2 separate regions of the Homo sapiens genome follow, and region 1 is linked to region 2. Evidence: promoter capture Hi-C in human tissues and cell types (Jung and others, 2019). All regions are on one chromosome and are shown on one strand. Each heading gives the region's core, a stretch centred on a gene start or on the middle of the fragment in contact. The rest is flanking DNA. Distances are from core to core; before and after follow the strand shown. Region 1 has its middle 5.0 kb from the start of PHF2. Region 2 holds the start of BARX1 (BARX homeobox 1).

Region 1 (6,300 bases), core at 1,640-4,139, 380 kb before region 2:
CAAGAAAATGAGAAAAGATGGGGAGATGGGTGGCATGGGCAAGTGATGCAGCCATGAGTGGAGGCTATCTGGGAATACAGGTCTGGGCCAGGAGCAGCGGATGGAGCACCCAGCCAAGGGGAATCCATGGAGAGCGGAGAAGCCCATGGCCACCCCGAGGACAGGGCTTGCTGTATCCTCCAGTGCTGTGGTCTGTTGAAGGCTTTGAGGCAGGACGGGTTGTGCTTGGATGCCCAGTGGGCTCCAGGTATCCATGCTACCCTGTAGGTGAGTCTTGTGAGGACCAGTGTCATTATTCCTGGTTAGCATTTCATCAGAAGAATCTCCCAGTGGGGAAGGGTGGGGGAAGGGTGGGGGAAGGGTGAGGGAAGGGAGTCTTTTGGTGCTCCTGCTGATTTAGCTCCGGAACGCTGCTTGGTATCCAGGGTCCAGGAGCTCTTTGTCTGTACTAGCCTGGCTGCTGGGCACAGTCAAGGCACTGGTGTTTGCCAATTTGACAGGTTAAAAAATGGGTTTTTATTTGCATGACTTTGATTTCTAGTGAGGGTGAACATTTCCCCTCTTACATTTAATTTGCCCATAATTTCTTCATTTTTCAATTGACAGGGAACTTCTAATGTCTCTCCTGGCTGTTTTATGATCTCCCAAACAATCAGGTAAGAATTTTAAGAAATAATTCACTGTCTATACCTTTCTCTATACCATCAACAACAAGGACCAAGGTAGTGTTAGGCTGCTCTGCTTTCCAGGACACCCCTCCTTGCCCTGCATTCCTTCTCCCTGCTCAGAGGGAGCCTACCTCTGCACTGCATGGGGCAGACAGCAGAATACAGGTGTTTTATGATGGACAGTAACCTTAGGGGTGACTCTCATCCCTCCCTCAGTTTTATTCTACTTTCAGTTCTTCTGAGAATGCAATACTTTCTTGTTAGCCTCAACTCCCTACCCTTACTCACTATATCTTGGACAAAAGTCCTATGCTACTTGGCTCCCCACGTTGTGGAGTAGATGGTGCAGAGGCCTTTTTGCCAGGAGCCTGCTGCTGGCCAGCCTGGCAGCCCTGCCCTCATCCACCCCACCTTTGTCCCCAAGCTGTCTGGTTACTCCTCCCTGTACCCCAGGGAAGCTTCCAGTCTTGGCTGTAACACAGCCCAGGCTAAGTTGACCAAAGACCTGCACATGGGACAAAATAAGCTTTTCATTAATGTGCTTTGCCCTGTGCTGAACTGGCTGTGGGACTTCACCAGAGTTTGTAAAGGACAGCCATGTGAAAACGCACTCAAGAAAAAAAAAATGCAACAGCAGTGGTAATAAGTTCTATGAAGGACAAATGCAGAGGAAATGAGGAACTTACATGGGTGGGGGTAGGAGGAAGGTGTCAGGGAAGCCTCTCTGAAGAATGACCTAGAGGGCAGGTGGGAGCTACCCAAGCAGATTCCAGGCACCTTGGGTGGACCAGGATGGCCACCCAGGATGGCCTTTTCCCAGGCTGTGCCCAGCAAGTTCCATCAGTTCAGGAAGCAAACAGCTGGAGGCACCTGTGCAGACCCATCCTGACCTCATGAAACCATGCCTACTCCTGGCATTTGTGAATGTCCATCTCTACAAACTCAACTGATGCCAGTATGGGCTATAGAGAGGGTCACATCAGTCTCAGTTTGCCCAGGATAGCCTCAGTTTGCCCCTGTTTTGGTGCTTTATTAACAGCACCCTTTTGGATAGTAGTAAATAATGTAGTCACCTGGCTCAGAGACTTGTCCACAAGCTCACTGCATCCAAACATCACAGGACCATCCTAGAGATGGTCAAGAAGGAGGGTCACTTTCATACCTGTCAGAAAAGCCCAGATGGCTTAAAAAATTTCCCCAGGTACTCCAAGAAGGGGCCCAGTATTTGAAGTTTCTATGCACTGACCAAATCAACTGATCTTTCACAAATACACACCCAACCTCAAGCTAGTATTTCCTTTCTAACATTTTCCACCCCCATCAATTATTAGTTACCTGTCTCTTGCTCTGGCCTATGGTATCTATGGAAGTAGGAATGTTTCTGCCTCATTCAGTCTATGAAACCTGCATTGGTTGTGTGCCAACAAAATAACCTAGATGAAATGGACAAATTTCTAGACATACAAAACTTACCAAGACTGAATGATGAAGAAACAAAAAATCTCAACAGACCTACAACTAGTAAGGAGATTGGATCACTAATCAAAAACCTCACAACAAAGAAAAGTCCAGGAACAGATGGCTACACTGGTGAATTGTACAAAACATTTAAAGAAAAATTAACACCAGTCCTTTTCAAACCCTTAAAGAAAATTGAAGAGGAGGGAATACTTTCAAGCTCTTTTGATGAGGCCATGATTACCATGATACCAAAGCCAGACAAAGATACTAGAAGAACACTACAGACCAATATTCCTTATGAATATTGATGCCAAAATCCTCAACAAAATACTTGCAAACTGAATTCGTAGCGTATTAAAAGGATCATACGCCATGAACAAGTGGGATTTATTCCCAGAATGCAAGGATGGTTCAGCATCCAAAAATCAATCAATGTAATACACATGTTAACAGAATGAGCAATAAGAACCTACATGGTCATCTCAATTAATGTAGAAAAAGCATTTAACAAAATTCAACACCCTTTCTTGATTAAAAAATTAAATACACTAGGAATAGAAGGAAACTTCCTCAACATAGTAAAGGCCATATGTGAAAAGCTGACAGCTAAAATCCTACTCAATGGTGAAAAGCTGAAAGCATTTTCTGTAAGATGAGGAAGAAGGCAAGGATGCCCACTCTCCCTACTTCTATTCAACATAGTACTGGAAGTACTAGCCAGAGCAATTACACAAGAAAAAGGAAAAGAAAAAAAAAAAGGCATCCAAACTGGAAAAGAAGTAAAATTATCTGTTCACAGATGACATGATCTTATATCATCATGTAAGATCATCAAGATATAGGAACCCTAAAGAGTCCACAGACATAAAACCACTCCAAAACCTATGAATTTGGCAAAGAGCAAGATACAAAATCAACATATGAAAATTAGTTTTGTTTCCATACACTAACAATGAACAATCTTAAAACAGCCAGGCGCAGTGGCTCACACCTGTAATCCCAGCACTCTGGAAGGCGGAGGGAGGTGGATGGCCTGAGGTCAAGAGTTCGAGGCCAGTCTGGCCAACATGGTGAAACCCTGTGTCTACTAAAAATACAAAAATTAGTCAGGTGTGGTGGCACATGCCTGTTATCCCAGCTACTTGGGAAGCTGAGGCAGGAGAATCACCTGAGTCTCACAGGTGGAGGCTGCAGTGAGCCGAGATCATGCCACTGCACTCCAGCCTGGGTGACAGAGCAAGACTCTGCCTCAGAAAAAAAAAAAAAAAATCTAAAAAGGAAATTATGGAAAAAAAATCCATTTATAGTAGCATCAAAAAGAATAAAATACTCAGGAATAAACTTAGTCAAGGAGACAAAATACTTGTACACTGAAAATGGAAAACTACCAAACTTTGCTCAAAGCAATTTAAAAAGAGACAAATAAATGAAAAGACAGCCTGTGTCTGTGGATTATAAGACTTACTGTTAAAAGGTCAATCTCTTAAAAGCAATCTACAGATTTACGCAATCCTTATGAAAATCCCAACATTGTTTCCTTGCAGAAATAAATTTTCTAAAGGAAAAATCCATTCTAGAAAACATGGAATCTCAAGAGACCCCAAGTAGCCAAAATAGTCTTTAAAAAAACAAAACAGAAAATAATAAGCGTTGATGTAGACGTGGAGTAACTGGAACTCTTTTTCATTCCTGGTGGGAATGTAAAATAGTATAGCCACTGTGGAAAATGGTATGGCAGTTCCTCAAAAAATACAAAAATTGAATCACCATGTGATCCAGCAGTTCCACTTCTGGATATATACCCAAAAGAAGTGAAAGCAGGGACTCCAACAGTTATTTGCATGCTAACATTCATAACAGCATTATTCACAACAGCCAAAGGATGGATGCCACCCAAGTATCCACTGGCAGATGAATGGAGAAACAAAGTGTGGTACATACATACAATGGGAATATTATTCAGTCTTAAAAAGGAAGCAAGTTCTGACCCATGCTACAGTAGGCATGAAACTTGAGGACATTATGTTAAGTGAAATAAACTGGTCACAAAAGGACAAATACTGTGTGATTCCACGTATATAAGATACCTAGAGGAGTCCAATTCATAGAGACAAAAAGCAAATGGTGGCTGCCAGGGGCTGGAGGAGGAGGGGCGTGGTGTTATAAGGGACAGAGTTTCCACTGGGGACCGTGGCAAATTTTCTGGAGATGGATGGTGGTGGTGGTTGCACAATAGTGTGAATGTACTTAATACCACCAAACTGTGCATTAAAAATGGTTAAAATGGTAAGGTTTATATCATGTATATGTAACCCCAATTTTGCCAAAAAACCTGCACTTGCACTCAACACATGTTTAGTGAATGTGTGAACCACAGGCCCTGGAGCAGGCTATGCTGATGGCTGGGTAGGAAGGGGAATAAAACACATCCATGCTGCAGCGGCACTGTCATTGCAGCACCAGGGTGCAGGTGCATGGAGGCCCTGGAGCTTGTGAACCCACTCATGCTGCACCTGCACAATGCCAGTCTGACTGAGGTTATGGGTAGGGACATCTTGACACTGGCATAGCCTCCTAAGTGCTGAAGTGCAGCTGAGCCCTGGGCAACATGGAGGGTGTGGTGGGCAGGCATTGAGGCACCGGGCAGTTAGTAGTTGAGGCAGTTAGTAGTTGGCTAACCACTAAGCAGAGGAGGCCATTGAGTTTGGGGCCAAAGGCAATGAGGTGCGGGAGGCAGTAAGATGCTACCTGAATTTCCAAGGCCACCGTCCTCCTCTCTGGGGCCTTTCCCTCCTTACCACCAAGCAAGAGTGAGTTCGCTATGGTCCTTACCCTCTGTGAGCAGTCCTATCCTGGCCTTTGCCCCCAGCTCACCTTCTCAGGGGAGTGTCCCTCTAGCCAGTGCCCTTCTTTCTCCCCAATCATCTTGTATGCATTGATGTATGTATTGACTGTCTCCCTTTATTCCAATGTGAACTCCAACAGAGCTGAGACTCTGCTGAGTCCCCAGTGTCTACAACACTGCTCAGGACACAGTAGATGCTCAATAAATACCTCAGTAGAGGAGTGAGAGAGAAGGAGGGAAGGAGGGAGGAGTGGGGAGGTGCATGTCCTGAAGGAGATGGAAAAAAGAAAGGGGAAGTCAGCTGGGCACAGTGGCTCACGCCTGAAATCCCAGCACTTTGTGAGGTGGAGGCGGGCGGATCACCTGAGGTCAGGAGTTTGAGACCAGCCTGACCAACATGGAGAAACCCCTTCTCTACTAAAAATACAAAATTAGCCAGCTGTGGTGGCACATGCCTGTAATCCCAGCTACTCGGGAGGCTGAGGCAGGAGAATCACTTGAACCCGGGAGGCGGAGGTTGCAGTGAGCCGAGATCGTGCCACTGCACTCCAGCCTGGGCAACAAGAGTGAAACTCCATTTCAAAAAAAAAAAAAAAAAAAGAAAAAGAAAAAACAAAAAGAAAGGGGAAGCCATAGGGAGAAGCCAAACAGAGGGAGCTTGTGGGCTTCTGATGACACTTGTTTTATCCCATAGATGGCAGGCAGCCATGGAAGGGCTTTGAACAAAAGGAATGTATCTGGTGGGCACAGGAGACCATCTGAAGGGCAGGGCTGGGAGGTGGGTGGGGTGGACACCCCGAACGACTAGCAGGGAGGCCGAGCTTCTCCAGACACATTCTGTGCGGTGGCTGCGGGGCAGGGAGCACAGGCCCAAGACTTGGAGACCAGCTGAGGGCTCCTCACTGGCTCCCACCCTCTGCCCTCTCACCAGGGAGCTGACATCCTCTGTCTGGCTGGATGTTTAATTGCTTAGCGCCTCAGTTTTCACTTCTGTGAAATGGCACTAATACCAATACCTAAAGGCACCAAAGGAGAGTCCTGAGTATGTAGTAATTGCCATCATGACCCAGGAATTTGCTAAGCGCTTACAAACATCTGGTTAGGTACTGGTAAAACCTCGTGAAGAACTGAGCCCAGGGCACTGTCCTGGTAAAAGCATTTGCTAAATGTTGGCTAACTACTGTCACTGTTTGTAAACAGGCTAATAGGAGTGTTAAGGGATGGGGGGATGCCCACATCAGGGCAGCCTCCCCTGCATCACAGCAGCCTCTAGAAGTTTCCAGCTTCATTTGGGCACTGCTCACCTGACTACTTTAGTACTGCTGT
Region 2 (6,528 bases), core at 404-2,903:
TCCAAAGTACCCTGAGAACCTGGAAATTATTGTTCACGTTTTCTATTTTCAGACGCTTCCCCATGCAGATGTTTCCATTTTCTTCAGTCCTAAAATGATTGTGTGCCCGCTTCAAACGAATTAGTAGCAACAGAGCAGATGGAGACGAAAGGTAGCCGAATGGCCGAGTCCCAGCTGGACTTAGAAGGAGCGCGCTGGCCCTGCCGTCTCCAGGCTAGGGAGCACCGACTAGGAGGTGGGGGGGTGCAGGGAAGGCGACTTGAAGGGCTGGGGTCCCGGCTACAGCGTAGGAGCCTCCCTTCCCCGACAGGCCTGTCACTGAGGTGCGAGTCCTAGCCTGGCTGGAGTCGGAAAGGGCAGGGCAAGGCGCAGGTAAATGTGGGGCAGAGGACCCGTAGGGAAAAGGTGGGAGATGGGAGGCAGGCCGACCCCAATGAGAGAAGCGAGGGAGGCCGACCGGCAGACGGTTGGAAAGCGAGATAGGGAAAGACAAGACGAGGGTGGAGTGCGATGGAGACAGCACCATCAGGGCAGAGCAGGCCCCGCCAAATTAGAAGAAAGGGCAGAAGCTGAAAAGGTCTGCGCAGGCCGTTCAAGCCCTGCAGAGGCCCAGCCGACCTGAAACCAGAAGGGACAGCCAGGCAGCTGCTCACAGTCAGGCCTCTGGCCCCAAGGCAAGGCCGAAGCAGGTCCGCACTGCGGCCAAGGCCGCGTTCCTCGCCCGCTGGAGCTCCCGGGGACTCCGGGCCGGCTTGGGCCCGCGTCAGCACCCAGCCCTCGGGAGCGCAGGCCTCCTCCCCAGAGGTCCGACTTCCCTGGGTTGGGCAGCCGCGGCCACTCCCGGCCATCCCTCTGCGGCGAAGCCCAGGCGCCCGTGGCCTGAGGTCGCTTCCACCCACGAGAGTCCGTAGCCTGGCAGTGCGCCTGCACTGGGGATGCTCACTCGGGGTCCCCGGGCTGGAGGCCGAAGGGAAGCAGTGAAGGAAAGAGCGAACACCCTCCCCGGGCGGCCCGCGGGCACGAGGCCTGGTTTCTGTGAGGCCTGGAGCTTGCACCCTCCGCCTCCCGCCTGGAGGGCTCCGAGAGACGGTCCCAGAACCTGCGCTCCCAGAGCAGCTTCCCGGGGCTGCTTCGATGCCGGAGGAGGCTCGGGGCGCCCCCGCGGTTCAGCTCGCTGTCTCCCGCCAAGCCCGGCCCGCGACCCCGCGGCCGCCACACGTACCCAGGTGGCTGTGGAAGGGCCGCGCCGCCAGCAGCGCCTGCACGCCGAACTTCAGCAGCTCGCCCGCCGCGGCAGCGGCGGCTGCGGGCGCGGCGCCCTTGGGCCCGGGTGGCTCCGTGAGGATCTCCTCAATCATGAAGCTGCGATAGCGGTGCGGCCGGTGGTCCGCGCAGCCCTCGGGCGGGCCGAAGCGCGCGGCGCCCGGCTCCCCCGGCCGCTGCATCGCGGCGCCCACTGCTGCGCCCGCGGTTTGGCGGCGGCGGCGGCGACGGCTTGGCTCCGGCGCGGGGCCCGCGCGGGGCTCTAGGCCGGCCCGCAGCTCGGGGCGGCGCGCGGGCGCCGGCTCATGCCCCCTCCCCCGCCGGCCGGCCGGGCGGAGGCGCAGGGCGCGGGCGGGGCGCGCGGGGCTCGGCCGGTCGAACCCGGGACTGCGCCCCCTCCCCACGCCGCCGCGCCTCTTGCCCGGCCAGCCCCGCGTCACCGCCCCGCCCCGCCCCGCCCCGCGCCGCCGCCCCCAACCCCTAGGCTGAGCCGGAGGGAGGGACCCAGAAGGGAGGGAGGCGGAAGGGAGGCCAAAAAGGAGGGGGCCACGTGAAAGAGGCCGGCCGACCGAGACCGAGGGAGACTGAGCGGAGCGCACGCCCTGGAAGGAGAGAGCCGGAGAGTTCGGGAGGCAAGACCCCCAGAGACGAGAGTCGGAGGGATCAAACGACACAGGTGAGAGAAGGGGCAGAGGCAGACGGCGTGGGCCAAACAAGATTCCAGACAGTGATGTGAGGGCACCAGAGACGCCACCGAGATGTGCGCAGAGAGACCAAAAGAGGCGTGAGAGCCAGCGGGCTGTGACGTGACGGAGGGCACAGAGGCAGGCGGGGCAGAGGAAGGGGGCGGTAAAGAAATGGGAACAGCTAGAAAACCGGCGGCTTGATCGGCTTTTAGGTAGCCCCGGAAAGGTCGGGAGGAGGAGGGGCAAAGGCCGCGCTCCTCAGCTGGGAAGGAGGTGGTCTCAAGCAGCCTCCAGTCCCGGGCTCAACACCGCCAACCCGGCAAGGGTGAGGCAGCGTTCAGGGATGCAAGGGGCAGAGCGGTAGCGGCACCTGTGCACCCCTCCCACCTCTGCCTCAGTTTACCATGTACGGCCTCATTTCTCTCCGGGCTGCCCTGAGAGAAAAATGTTCTCCAGCCGAGATTTGCTTGAATTGGAAATTCAAGTGATCCATGGACACATCCTCCTTGACAGCCCCCAGAAGACTGTAGGCTGGTTACATCCCCCTAGTTAGAAAAGGAAAAGGATTCGAGGAGAAGGGAAGGATGCAGCTTTGCCTTTTCCCAGCTTTGGGGCATCAAGAAACTGTTACTGGGCGGAGTTGGGGCCAGGGGGCCAGTGGGTGCTCTGAGAGTGTAAAGACCAAACTCTGGTGGGACCTGGCTCCATTGCGGAGCCTCAAAAGCTCCAACATGGTGGAGGAAGTTGGCAGTACCTTCTCTAGATCTTTCTTTCCATCCTTAGAAGAGTATAAGCCCAAGCCGTGGAGTGAACAACCCCAAAGCTACCCTACGCTGAACTCCTCTCTTTGGTCCTGCCACTACTGGTGAAACCACTGACCCTTTCTGGGCCTGTTTCCTTACCTGTCCTGAGGAGATGCTGACCTTTGGCTCCAGAGAGACTGTGAGAACTCAGTGAGGGGGTCCTGCACTCCGAGGGTCCTGCACCCTGGGAGCCCTTAGGTCTGTTTGGAGAGAAAACAGTTCCTCCAGGCAAGAGGGGAGAAGTGTCCCCAGGAGGTTGGGGGAGGAGCATCTGCCCTCCTCCTTCTCAGGAATCACAGGGCCTACCTCCTAGCCCCATCCACCATTGCCAGTCAGCGCCTGATGCACTGGGGGTGTCCTGGGCCACCCGGACTTCCTCTGTGAGCTCCATGTGGGGCCTCAGTCTTTACCTCAGGTAACTAGGGCTTACCACACCTACAGCCATGCCCCCCACCCAAGTTGAAGTCCTTTCTCCAGCTCCAGCTGCTGGTGGGGAGGCCTTCAGGCTGGCCCTCAGTCCCTGGCACCTGCCCCAGACTCGGGAGTGGGGGTGGGGGGCAGGTGGGGACTAGGAAGTGGCCCAGATCCTTTGTCTGTAGGGCCTGGAGTGAGGACAAAGACTACCTTACTCTGGTAAGATCCCAGTCCCAAGAGCCCACTGTCTCTCCTTCCCAGTTGTTGCATGACTTTCTGAACTCAGAGTTACCATTGGGACTGAAAGAAGGTGGCCTCAATGGCCGCCAGTTGCTTCGGACTCCCTCGGAGAGTGGTGCTGTGAGCCTACATGGTTCTTTGGAAAGGGTGGAGAGGGGCGCACTAAGAGCAACAGTATCCCACACTGAGCAGGCCTCCTCCTGAGAGACCAAGAGACCAGGAAGCTGGCCCTGTCGCTGTTGGCCAAGCAGCCACTGACATCCTACCTGGCAAATAGAAACAAGCCAGTGTCTCCTGGGAGGCTGGGGCAGCCCAGTCAGGCTCCCCCTATCAACGGGTAGACTCAGAGAACCCTCCCTAGATGAGTGCAATAGTATCACTCAATCCAACCATCTCCTTTTTCAGATGGGAAACTGAGGCCCAGCAAGAGGCAGCCCTGGTGCAGGGACTCCAGTGAGTAGGGCTGGTTTACTATTGCTTCTTGTACAGAGCCATATCAAGCTCCTTTTTCCGGCTTCCTCCCTCACCTCCCCCATCTTAGCAGGGCCCCTGCCCCTTCCTCACCCCCTGGCTTCTGCATCTCCCTAAGGGCATAGCCTAGTGGTGGTTTCTCCCCTGAGTAGGCCCAGCTAGCCTCTGTCCCATCCCCTGTTATTTGGGCCCTAACAGAAGCTACCCAAATTTGAACCATCTCTGCCCCATGCTCAAGACCTGAGGGTCTCACATCCTCAAAATGGGTCCCCAGATTCCAGATCCAAGGATTTGGGGATCACACTGTTCATCAGCTGTCACTAAACTTATTTTACTATGAGCCATCCCCCTGGGGTAGCTTCTTGGTCAGCTTGTGGGGAAGGGGGTCATTTTCAGGATGGAGGCCTCATCTCTAGATTTTGGGGAGTCAAAAGAGTAGTGCAGCCCAGCCCTCACCCCATTCCACAGGTGTGCACCCCCAGCTCCTTGGACTCTGGCCAGGACCATTTCCTGCAGCCCCAGGCCAGCCCTGCAGCATGAGCAGAGGGTGGCTTTGGGAATGAGGCCCTGAGGGCTGGAAGGAGAATGCCCAGCGCCTAGGGAACTTTGGGAGACCGCAGCTGGCTCCAGGGGCTGAGAGAGCCAGGGTCCTGCCCCCGGTCGCCCAAAACACCTCCCTTGTAGGTCTGTCCCTGATCCCCCGGCTCTTGATAGACACAGCCTCCCCGTCGCCCGACCCCAGGGCAAACCAGCAGATAAACCCCTTTTAGGCGAAAATTACACAAAAACGGCGGCGGCGGCGGGGCCTCCTCTGCTCAGGCACTGCCGCGTTGGCGGCCGAAAAAAGAGGGTCCCAGAGAAGGGGAACCCCCTCCCTGTCGAGGACACCGAGGCCCAGAGAGGGGAAGCCTCCTCCCCAGTGGGGTGCAGTCTGGGATTGCAGTCCCCACCCCAGGGGCGCAGCTGCCAGCCCAACGCCTGGGACACACCCCCTCCCGAGGCCTCTAGCCGCCGCCGCGAAAATCCCGGAAACCGTCCTGCTCGCGGCGGGCGCAGTGGAAAAGGTGACCTCAGCGCCCCGGGCCAGCCGCCCTCCCTAGCAGCCGGGCGGCGAGGGGCTCCGGGCGGCAGGGGTTCCTCGGCGCCGCCCGGTCGCTGGATGAGGGGCCCTCGGAGCGCAGAACCGGCCCCCTCCCCACCCATGTTCTGCCCCTCAGACCCTACAGCCCCTTTGGAGGCTGCGGGACAGGGAGGGGACCACCTCATTCCCACAACCGAATCCCCTAAGCATTCAGGTGTAGGTTCCAGAACCACCTCCCCTCCACCCACACCCTTCTCCTACTCCAGCGCCTCCCAGACGGGATTGTGAAATGGCTCCGCGTGCGAACGGGTCCAGGAGCCGTTCGTTGTACAGAGGAGGAAGCTAAGTCTGGAAGGAGCACTCGAGCAGGCTCAGCGGCCAGCAGCCAGCGGCAGGGGGATCGTGCATCGCTTGGAGGGCGCTGGGCTCTCCTCCATCCGCCTCAGCCGTGGGCAGTTTGTTTCCGCTCCCACTTGCAGCGGGTCTGCATCTTAATTGGCAAAACGAAGTTGGGGCCGCGGTGGAGCGGAGGCTTCTTCCAGAACGGTCAGCTCACCTCCGGATGCGGTCGTCCGAGCAGCCGCCTGCGGGGGGTCCCACGCCCTCTATCTAACAGGTTGACGTCCAGCCCCTAGGGGCCCAGGCGGCCCCGGGCCGCCCCACCTCGCGGCCTTCTGCTCCCCGCGCAGCCTTGCGCGCCCAGCCACCCAGCACACGGTCCGTCCCTGGGGACGCGTCGCGAGCGCCGGGAATGGAGCTCGTTTCCTCTTTTCTTTTTTCTTCTTCTTCTTTTTTTTTTTTAAACCTTTGGTTCTGATTGTCCTTGGCCCAGCAGGCTGTTGGTGGCGTTGGTGGTGCTGCTGGGACTGGGGCACCGGCCTTGGCCGCAGGTGTGCTGTGCCCGACAGAGGCCGCCTGGACCGCGCCCGGAACGCCCTGTCCGGGTGGGCTGCGGCGTTCGCCCTGCTTTTGCCCCGAGCCGAGACTGGCAACATCTTTTCTAGCTTCAAAACAGAAAATTTTGGAATTATAAAATTACCCCCTCCCCACGCTTACAGGTCATTATCTCCTGGAGACCACCAACTCGCTTTCTCTTTGGAGAAGCCAGTCTCTGTGACCCTTTCTTTCATGAAAATTTCGAACTCAAATGTGGGCATTCGTTTTGAGTCATTTCAAAGCCCTAGAAGCTCGGGGTCAAATTGTGTTTCGGGTGACAGCGCCTTTAGACACATCCCCCTCTCTTTCCAAGCTCCCCCTCTTGGAGCAATTTACAAATTTGTTCCTTTGGAATTCGCTACTTTATTTTTGTTTTGTAAGTTTTGTTGTTGATTTTTTTAATGTTTAATTTTCTATGGAAGTGTTAGTTTAAATACATCCAACAGCCCAGCGTGGTGGCAAGCGCCTGTAGTCCCAGCTTCTAGGCAGGTTGAGGTAGGGGGATTCCTTGAGCCCAACAGTTCGAGGCTGCAGTGAACAATGATTGCCCCACTGCACAAGCCTGGGCAACAGATCCAGACCCCGTCTCTTAACCAAAATAATAAATAAAAATAAAAGACAGATCCTTAGATAG

The links. Contacts are between HindIII fragments. The study calls those that stand out against the background at their distance.
Region 1: a contact is called between a fragment that was not itself captured here and the fragment with the promoter of BARX1 in region 2, in 1 of the 25 tissues and cell types used here (liver).

The regions. Positions count from the first base shown.
Region 1 is chr9:93,568,480-93,574,779 of GRCh38, forward strand. No RefSeq gene overlaps it. Among named protein-coding and RNA genes, the nearest start is that of PHF2, 5.0 kb to the right of the region's middle. The HindIII fragment of the contact is 8,158 bases long and covers 1-6,300 here.
Region 2 is chr9:93,953,702-93,960,229 of GRCh38, forward strand. It overlaps BARX1 (BARX homeobox 1), which reads right to left and starts at 1,654. Exons shown (of 4, transcript NM_021570.4): 1 at 1,223-1,654. The coding sequence starts at 1,445. BARX1-DT (BARX1 divergent transcript) reads left to right here and starts at 2,133. Exons shown (of 2, transcript NR_144455.1): 1 at 2,133-3,167; 2 at 3,812-4,221. LOC124902216 (a long non-coding RNA gene) reads left to right here and starts at 1,825. Exons shown (of 3, transcript XR_007061672.1): 1 at 1,825-1,939. RefSeq lists enhancers at 1-236, 1,648-2,179, 2,180-2,710. The HindIII fragment of the contact is 32,678 bases long and covers 1-6,528 here.